Linked DNA regions of Homo sapiens: regions 2 and 3 are each linked to region 1. The links are contacts of gene promoters, found by promoter capture Hi-C in blood cells and fetal thymus (Javierre and others, 2016). All regions are on one chromosome and are shown on one strand. The core of a region is centred on a gene start or on the middle of the fragment in contact, and the rest is flanking DNA. Distances in the headings are between cores, read along the strand shown. Region 1 holds the start of CRABP1 (cellular retinoic acid binding protein 1). Region 2 overlaps IREB2 (iron responsive element binding protein 2). Region 3 overlaps CHRNA5 (cholinergic receptor nicotinic alpha 5 subunit).

Evidence for each region. The method cuts DNA at HindIII sites, captures the fragments that hold promoters and counts their contacts. A CHiCAGO score of 5 or more calls a contact.
Region 2: a contact is called between a fragment that was not itself captured here and the fragment with the promoter of CRABP1 in region 1, in 2 of 17 cell types (megakaryocytes and M2 macrophages). The highest score is 6.0, in megakaryocytes.
Region 3: a contact is called between a fragment that was not itself captured here and the fragment with the promoter of CRABP1 in region 1, in 1 of 17 cell types (erythroblasts). The highest score is 5.4, in erythroblasts.

The regions. Positions count from the first base shown.
Region 1 is chr15:78,339,091-78,342,154 of GRCh38, forward strand. It overlaps CRABP1 (cellular retinoic acid binding protein 1), which reads left to right and starts at 1,263. Exons shown (of 4, transcript NM_004378.3): 1 at 1,263-1,408; 2 at 1,953-2,131. The coding sequence starts at 1,339. RefSeq lists an enhancer at 813-1,441. The HindIII fragment of the contact is 12,559 bases long and covers 1-3,064 here.
Region 2 is chr15:78,483,439-78,486,957 of GRCh38, forward strand. It overlaps IREB2 (iron responsive element binding protein 2), which reads left to right. Exons shown (of 22, transcript NM_004136.4): 12 at 1,323-1,482; 13 at 2,267-2,402. Among named protein-coding and RNA genes, the nearest start is that of HYKK, 22 kb to the right of the region's middle. The HindIII fragment of the contact is 2,229 bases long and covers 167-2,395 here.
Region 3 is chr15:78,591,717-78,594,822 of GRCh38, forward strand. CHRNA5 (cholinergic receptor nicotinic alpha 5 subunit) reads left to right here. Exons shown (of 6, transcript NM_000745.4): 6 at 1,376-3,106. The coding sequence ends at 1,537. It also overlaps a transcript of CHRNA3 not described here. Among named protein-coding and RNA genes, the nearest start is that of CHRNA3, 28 kb to the right of the region's middle. The HindIII fragment of the contact is 449 bases long and covers 1,189-1,637 here.

The DNA of each region.
Region 1 (3,064 bases), core at 13-2,512:
CCCACCTGGCTAAGCCTTAGGAAGGGAGGACAAGTGGATAAACGATCACTGCCCTCCAGGAGTTCAGTTTATAGCAGAGCGAAGACTTGAACAAGAGCAGGACCGGACAAGAATCCTGTCAATTCAGAGAAAAATAATCACAGTTTATTAGGAAACTGAATTTCACAAAAGAGAGAGCATAAAGATGGGCTTTCGTGAATGGGCAAGATTTGATTAACCCGATGAGGAAAGGGGCATTCAAGGAAGAAGCCATGGCATGGGCAAAAACTTAGAGATAATAAAATGCATGGCACGTTCTAGAATCCTGAATTGTACAGTTTGGCTGAGGTGTGCAGATGGTAAAATAGTGGGAAAAAGCTGGAAGGAAAATGTACAGAGAAGAGCTACAAGGGTAATAGTGAAGTGTTTGTACTCCCTTAGTGGAAACACCGAGGGGACTTTAGGTCGTGATGTTTAGGTTATTTGGGAGCAAAGGGAGAAGACTTCCTCCCCTTGGCCCTCACAGCCTGCCCGAAGAGTGCAAAGCCTCACGCTTTTGCAAAACAGGCCGCACCTAGCCCAGATTCTGGAGCTGATTCAGTCCATGCCTCTCGACCCACAGTTTGTCCTGAGCCCTGACAAAGGTCTGGCCCCCTCCTGCACTCGGAACGCGGAGGACCCGCAGCTCGTGGATTCGCGCCTCAGTGCCCAAGCTGGTGTTGATGGGGGTTGCGGTTTCCTGCCACTCACTCCCCATGGGTCCTGTGGGGGGCGTGGGGATGCGGGGAGAGGGTTTCAGAATAGGATCCCGGACTGGGAGGGAAGGGACACCATCTGGGCACACCCAGTAGGTACGACCGGAGGTGAAAAAAGAGTGGGTCCCATCCCCTGATGGCCCCGCTCGCTATCCACTTTAAGTTTATGTTATGGATATTTTCAAACATATTCAAAAGTAGAGAGAAAAGTAGAATCATAACCCAAGTCCACACCGCCCAGCTTCAACAGTTATCCCCTCCAAGCCCATCTTGTTTCAGCTAACCCTCTCCCACCACCCATTTTAAAGCGGGATGTGGGTGTCCTGAGGGAGGTGGAGGCTCCCCAGTTGGAGAGCGGGTGCCCGCACCTCTGGAGGCTGAGGCACAACTGGGCTGGGAGTTGAGCGCATACCGAGTAGGGGCTGCGGGGGAGCGGGGGCAGGGCCGGCGGGGCGGGGCCAGAAGCCCGGCGGGGTTGGGGGCGCTCTCCTAGTGACTCAAGGCGCGCAGCGCTGGGCGCAAAGCGCCAGTCTCCGCCTTGCGAGCTCAGAGTGTGCCCGCTGCGCCGCCGCTGTCCGTACCTGCCGCCGCCGCCACCGCCACCATGCCCAACTTCGCCGGCACCTGGAAGATGCGCAGCAGCGAGAATTTCGACGAGCTGCTCAAGGCACTGGGTAAGCTGGTGCAGAGGGCGCGCCCCGACGGGGAGATGCGGCCCGGAGGTGCCCTGGTCCCGGAAGTGCCCCGGTCCTGGAGGGGGTGGAAGTTGGGGAGCCCAGGCAGGAGGGAGTCCCCGGGGCAATAGATCGCCTTGTCTCCCAGGCGCACCGGGTCTCGGAGAAGCTGGTAGAGATCCCGGAACCCACGCGTTCAGCGAACGTTTGCTGAATGTTTGGCGCCCTCCTCGATGGTGCGGACTTTATCTCGTGCTAGATCATAGCGAGGAGAGATTACTGGAGAGCAAGGAGGATCAGGGACTTAAATTTGGAGACTCAAATTTGGGACCAGGCTCTGCCACGAATTCACTGTGCAACTCGAGGAAAGTCACTTACCCTCTCTGTGCCTCAGTCTCTCATCTCGAAAACAAGGGCGAGGGCAGGGAAACGAGTGGATCAATTTTAAGGCCCCTTTCTAAAGTTAGGGTATGACCAGTGCCCGACCGGTCCCGAGACTGGCGGCGAGGCCCCGTGACCCAAGCCTGTGGTGCACCCTGCGCAGGTGTGAACGCCATGCTGAGGAAAGTGGCCGTAGCGGCTGCGTCCAAGCCGCACGTGGAGATCCGCCAGGACGGGGATCAGTTCTACATCAAGACATCCACCACGGTGCGCACCACTGAGATCAACTTCAAGGTCGGAGAAGGCTTTGAGGAGGAGACCGTGGACGGACGCAAGTGCAGGGTGAGGCCCCAGAGCCACTACAGCGTCCCCGTGTCCCCGCTCGGTGCCCATGGCCCACTGCTGCTGGAGGAACCTGTGTCTCCCTTTGCAGCCTGTGGCGCGCCTTCCTTGCAGGGTGTGTACACTGGCTGTTTGCAGAGGGGGTTTGTGCATCCTAGTTGCCCCTGGCTCAAGACAAAGTATTACCTTCATTCCATCTCAACCCCATCCCTACGCTGCCTCCCGGGGTGCTAACAGCCGCGCTTAAAGAGCGGGCTCTGGGTTGCGCCGCGTTCCCAGCAGTGGCTTTTGCAGCGGTTTGCAGCGCCAAGCGCAGGCGGCGCAGGAGGAGGAGGAGGTTGCAGGAGCCGCCAGGTTCTCTGTCGCAGGTGAAGCCGCAGCTCTTGCATTCCTTTCCCGCCGTATCCCCCGCGCCCGCCCGGGTCCCTGGGCCGCCTGGGTACGCTCTGGATACAGTTTTAGCAGTCCCGATGGCCCCGTCACCTCTCCCTTCCCGCCTTCGGCCTGGTTCCTTAAAGGAACGGCGGAGTCTTTCCAAAAGCAAGGCAGGTTCTGGCTGGGAAAATGGACTAGTTGCCCTCTCTTAGTCCTCAAGGGCAAGAGTTTTTTTTTATTTCTCCATGCATCGGCCCAGGGATGAACCGGTGGATTGAAGCAAGGGGTTGTACATTCGTTTTTTGCATGGGCAAAAATTGCATTTGGTTAACCAGATGGAAAAATAATCACCGGTGCTACCACTTATTTAAAAAGTGACAGAATGTCTCCCTCCCCTTCTCCAATTTTTTTTTTTTAAAGAAAAAAGTCGTAACATTCCAGAGAGTGGGAAATTGTTTCTTTCACCTTTCCTGAGCAGTGCCTGGTCTGATCTCGGAATGGGACTCTCTGAGCACCGGGCTTGGAAGGACAAAGAAACAAAGCCCCCCAGAAGCAGGC
Region 2 (3,519 bases), core at 31-2,530, 140 kb after region 1:
GTTACTTTATTCTTATCCGTGTTTTTCAACCCGCTTTGTGCTAAGTAGTAAAGAACCAACAAGGTGACCCATAAACTCAATTCACTGCTATGTTTTATATATTATGGCACACACCAGCAGCCCCCTTATTTTCCTTCTGTCTAATGTGCAAGTCAGTCATTAGGTAAGCTTGTTCCCAGTTCCATTGTGAGGATCAGAGATTGATTGTGTCTATTTAAATTAAAATTATATACAATTTAAAATTGAGTTTCTTAGTCACAGTAGTCTCATTTTTAAATGCTGAATACATATGGGTCTTGTATTGATGAACAGCATAGATAATTGAATAGTTACATCATCACAGAAACTTTTTTTTTTTTTTTTGAGACAGAGTCTCACTTTGTTGCCCAAGCTGGAGTGCAGTGGCACAATCTCGGCTCACTGCAACCTCCCCCCTCCCGGGCTCAAGCGATTCTCCTGCCTCAGCCCCCAAAGTAGTTGGAATTACAGGAGTCTACCATCATTCCTGGGTAATTTTTGTATTTTTAGTAGAGACAGGGTTTCACCATGTTGGCCAGACTGGTCTTCAACTCCTGACCTCAAGTGATCTGCCCACCTCAGCCTCCCAACAGTGCTGGGATTATAGCCATGAGCCACCGCACCTGGCCTACAGTCATAAAATTTGGTAAATGTGACCGAGTAGCAAGTGGTCTCTGGCTTTTGAGGGTTTGTATTTTCTGTCTGAGAATCACAGTTTTAGTCTTGTCACTTTCTCTATTCTGAGATCTCTAGTACTTGGCTTTCCTTTCAGAGCCTTTCTTTTTATGATTTCTTGACTTTTTGTTCAGAAAGTGTTAAACTTGTACAAAAACAAAATAGTCCACTGAATTGCCATGTACCTGTCAATTAGCTTCAATAATTAGCAACTCATAGCCAATCTTGTTTCAGCTATGCTACACTCACACACATAGGATCCCTTTGGAGGAAATCTTCGGGGTCATTTTAACAGAAAAAAATTTCTGCCATCTCTTGAGAATTACTATAAACAGGGATGATTAAGAACAACAAAGCCAAATGAGATCTGGATTCTGGGTGGTAGGCTGGACTCGCTTAGTAGATAAAAGTTTTGCTTGTGAACATCACCAGACTCCTGTCGTGCCCATGCAGATTTATGCTTCAGCTGAATTACAACTACTGAATGTTATGGGCCTTTAGCATCACTCACAAAAAGGATTTTTAATGTTAAATCATCAAATGTCCGGTATCTGCTATGTTTTCTGCCAGTCTTTTATTCTGTACATACCCAGAATATTTAGTTTATATTTTTGTGGAAATTTGTATAGGTTGGATTTAAAGGCTTCCAAATTGCAGCTGAAAAACAAAAGGATATTGTCTCCATTCATTATGAAGGAAGTGAATATAAGCTGTCTCATGGATCAGTGGTCATTGCTGCAGTTATCAGTTGTACCAATAATTGCAATCCATCTGTCATGCTTGCTGCAGGTGGGTTGTGGTTTATGGCCATACTTTTTCTTTTTCCTTAATTATTGTTGGCTTTTCTGTTATTGTAACTTTGTTTCTTAGATGATGCATGAGTGTCTACATTTGATATTGAGAGACTTTCTAGTATTTTAGTTAGGTCTTAAGGAGCCTGAGTTTGATTTATGTTGTTTTTATTACACCGAAGGTAAATTTACTGTTTACTATAACTTACCTGTCAATTAATTTTAGGTTGTATCTGCTTCTCTTGTTAATTTAGAACTATAGTTAATTAGCAGGTATTTCTTGATTATCTAGAAGTTAACCATAACAGTGTGGTAGATTTCATTAAAAGTTATAAAAGTAGTAAAAGATCATTGTCTTGGCAAGGATTGTAAATGAAATTAATTTGTATGCCCATTGGAACAATTCCTTAGTTGTATAAAACCATGTATAATGTGTTACATTGCTCTTATTGTAATTATGACTTTAAAATGGTTTGCTTTAGAAAAAAGAAGAAAGAGAAAAAATGGTTTTGTTAACATGTACTTATATATGTGCACCTTTTGTTTACTCTGTGTGAATGATGTCAGCCTGTATCTTAATAATTTTCAACATAAAGGCTGTAATTTTAAATTTGTTGTAAATGAAGCAAATCAGTAGAATAAAGTGGACAAAATAATGACAGTAAGTTTATGAATTCATACTTTAATCTGTTAAATAAATTACTTCTCACTTTTTACTTTAATATGGGTGAGAGAGGGAAAGAAACATTGCCATAATAAATCATTGTTTGTTGGCTGTGCAGGTCTTTTGGCTAAAAAGGCTGTTGAAGCTGGTCTGCGTGTTAAACCTTATATAAGAACAAGTTTATCTCCAGGCAGTGGGATGGTTACACATTACCTCAGTTCAAGTGGAGTATTACCATATCTAAGTAAGCTTGGGTAAGTAACAGCTATCGCACTTCATATTGATATTGGTGTTCAGTAGGTACTGAAGCTGCTTGTTTGTGCCTTTCATATACAAAGAGAAGATAGAAAAAATATGCTTTAGTTTTACTTGCTACCTTGCCATTACCATACAATTTTTGATGCCTTATCACTCAGGAAACACTTATTGGGCATATCAAATGAGCAAAGCACCAGGTTGGATACACAGAAGTAGGAGATGTGGTCTTAGCTTCAAGATACTTAGTTGGGAAGACAAGACAAACAAGTACAACCAAATAACAGTTACAGTGTAAGAAACGATACCAAGTATGCACAATTTCTGTGAGTTGTGTAGGTCAGTTCAAAAAAGAAAGAAATCTTATAGTTTGCATTTATTAACTGAAAATTGTCTTAATTTTAGTTTTATGAGGTTATTGGGTCTATAATACATAAGTTTAAATTGTCCCTGAACTTTGGAGAAAGTAACTTATGTTTTTTGGGCTGGGCGCGGTGGCTCACGCCTGTAATCCCAGCACTTGGGGAGGCCGAGGCAGGCAAATCATGAGGCCAGGAGTTTGAGACCAGCCTGGCCAATATGGTGAAACCCCGTCTCCACAAAAAATACCAAAATTAGCCAGGCGTGGTGACGCACACCCATAGTCCCAGCTACTCAGGAGGCTGAGGCAGAAGAATTGCTTTAACCTGGGAAGCGGAGGTTGCAGTGAACCCAGATCGTGCCGCTGCACTCCAGCCTGGGCGACAGAGCGAGACTCCATCTCAAAAAGAAAAAAAAAAAAGTAACCTATGTTTTTTATGTAATCCAAAACAATTGATGCTAGTTGTGTGGGGATTTTTTGGTTTTGAGACAGTGTCTTGCTCTATTGCCCACACTGGAGTGCAGTGGTGCAATCACAGCTCATTGCAGCCTCGACCTCCTAGGCTCAATCAGTCTTCCTACCTCAGCCTCCTGAGTGGCTGGGACCGCAGGTGTGCACCACCACACCCAGCTAATTTTTATGTTTTTAGCAGAGACAGAGTTTCACTGTGTTGGCCAGGCTCGTCTCAAACTTGTTCCCTTAAGTGATCGGCTCGTCTTGGCCCCCGAAAGTGTTGGGATTACAGGCCTGAGCCA
Region 3 (3,106 bases), core at 163-2,662, 250 kb after region 1:
TCAATAGGTTTTTGGGGAACATGTGTTTGGTCACATGCATAAGTTCTTTCATGCTGATTTCTGAGACTTTGGTGCACCCATCATAAAAACTTCTAATGCTTGTGGGTTTGTGAAGTATCTATTTGGTGGTAGCATAATGAAATTAGTTTATAAGGTTTGGAGCTATCATTGGAGTTTTTAAAAGTACATAGATTTGTTAGGTAATGGTTTAGACTGAGATGGAATTTAATAAATGTCTGCAAAGTATTGTGCAAAAGGGTCATGGCTCATACTACTAGGACCAAGGAGGTTGGTTTTATTTTCAGATAAAAACAGAGGCAGAGGTGGCCAGGTGCGGTGGCTCACGCCTGTAATCCCAGCACTTTGGGAGGCTGAGGCAGGTGGATCACGAGGTCAGGAGTTTGAGACCAGCCTGGCCAATATGGTGAAACACTGTCTCTCCTAAAAATAGAAAAATTAGCTGGGCATGGTGGTGTGTGCCTGTAGTCCCAGCCACCTGGGAGGCTGAGGCAGAAGAATCACTTAAACTTGGGAGGCAGAGGTTGCAGTGAGCCGAGGTCACGCCACTGCACTCCAGCCTGGGGGACGGAGCAAGGCTCTGTCTCAAAATAAAATAAGCAGAGAAGTAACAGGGTTTACAATGCCCTAAATTCTAAATTATCCTACACTTTGGAGGCACAGTTCCCATAGAGGACACCATCCTTCATAGAGGTTCAGGGCCAGGGAAGCCCCTGGTCAAGGAAATGGCCTTGTAGAAAGGGGAGCCCCTGCTGCTTAGTGGCTGGGCTCATCCTTCTTTTTCCTTGTGGTGGCTCCGAGCTGCTGAGCCAGCTCCCTACTAAAGCTGGCTCCAGGGAAGACTGTTCTGTGCTCATGAAATTAGACTGAAGTGGTCCCTAGGAAATCCAAAAATAAATAAAGTGTGTATGTGAGGAAGATGAACAGCTTTCTAACATGTATTATTCTGAACCAACTTTTAATTTGGCATGAAATTAATCTCAGGCTAGAGTCTCTCAAAATATTAAAATAAGTAAACACTACTGGGCAAGAATAAGTATATATAGTAAGAATAATTTTTTTTAGTTTATTGTAAAATATCCAAGTCTATTTTAATTTTTAATCTATCAAAATAAACCACTTGTAATATAAGTTGATGTGTAAATGAACATATTTTGTAGTGTCTTTTAAAGCTTATATCTATAGTAGACCTTCAGGCTAGTGTCTGTCCCTGAGCTGAGTATAGGGTCACTTACCGTTTAGAGGCAGCAATGGGAGGCAGAAATCGATTTGGCTTCTAACTCAGTGTGTTTGTTATATCTTAAAATATGTACACAATTTACAATTATTTAATGCATTTTTATTTTTTTCCTAACAGGTTGTTGAAGATTGGAAATTCATAGCCCAGGTTCTTGATCGGATGTTTCTGTGGACTTTTCTTTTCGTTTCAATTGTTGGATCTCTTGGGCTTTTTGTTCCTGTTATTTATAAATGGGCAAATATATTAATACCAGTTCATATTGGAAATGCAAATAAGTGAAGCCTCCCAAGGGACTGAAGTATACATTTAGTTAACACACATATATCTGATGGCACCTATAAAATTATGAAAATGTAAGTTATGTGTTAAATTTAGTGCAAGCTTTAACAGACTAAGTTGCTAACCTCAATTTATGTTAACAGATGATCCATTTGAACAGTTGGCTGTATGACTGAAGTAATAACTGATGAGATACATTTGATCTTGTAAAAATAGCAAAATATTATCTGAACTGGACTAGTGAAAAATCTAGTATTTGTATCCTGGCAAATAATACTAATTTATAATCCACAGTAAAGTTCATCCTTTGACTGTGCTGGAGAATTCCAGTTGTATTTGAAGACTGATTTTAAAACTTTTCTGCATTTGGTAAAGGTATGTAAACTTTCCTGTACTCACTGAGTAACAGCTAATCTTTAATATAATATTATACTGCTATATTTAAAAAGCTGACTACTTGATATAATTACTTAATGTGATGCTTGATATAATAATTACTTAATGTGGCCGGGCACGGTGGCTCACACCTGTAATCCCAGCACTTTGGGAGGTCGAGGTGGGCGTATCACCTGAGGTTGGGAGTTCGAGACCAGCCTGACCAACGTGGAGAAACCCCGTCTCTACTAAAAATATGAAATTAGCCAGGGTGGTGGTGCACACCTGTAATCCCAGCTACCTGGGAGGCTGCGGCAGGAGAATCGCTTGAACCCAGGTGGCGGAGGTTGCGGTGAGCTGAGATCACGCCATTGCACTCCAGCCTGGGCAACAAGAGCAAAACTCAGTCTCAAATAATAATAATAACAACAACTTAATGTGCTGCTGCTTTTCCATAACCAACATTTTAAAAATAAATGAAAAACAGGAATTGGGAACTCCTTTAAGGCTTACTTTATTCTTTAGATGCTTAATTATTGTGTTAACTATTTCTGTAGCTTAGCTTCCACTGTAAAGTCATACAGTAGACAACTCCTGTGGACACGCAGTAGCATATCCTTAACATTAATTTCAGTCCTCTTGTCCACATTTCCCACAATTAATAGAACCATCTTCTATATAAATTGTGGTAGTATCTCTTTATCCTTGATCTTAGAATAGTCAGTCCACTACAATTACATGAACCCCATTTAAAAAACATATTTAGGGCCGGGGGCAGTGGCTCACATCTGTAATCCAAGCACTTTGGGAGGCTGAGGCAGGTGGATCACCAGAGGTTAGGAGTTCGAGACTAGCCTGACCAACATGGTGAAGCCCCGTCTCTACTAAGAATACAAAAAATTAGTCGGGCATGGTAGCAGGCGCCTGTAGTCCCAGCTACTCAAGAGGCTGAGGCAGGAGAATCGCTTGAACCTGGGAGGTGGAGGCTGCAGTGAGCCGAGACTGCGCCATTGCACTCCAGCCTGGCAACAAGAGCAAAACTCTGTCTCAAACATATTTTGGTCTAAATCATTCTGTGAGAAAACAATCTTCTAATATGAAACACAGTATTCTAATTTGGTATATGCACACTGTTATATACCTGTAATATTTCAGTTTTCTCTCCTTCATTCTAACAATTACAATAATAGAATC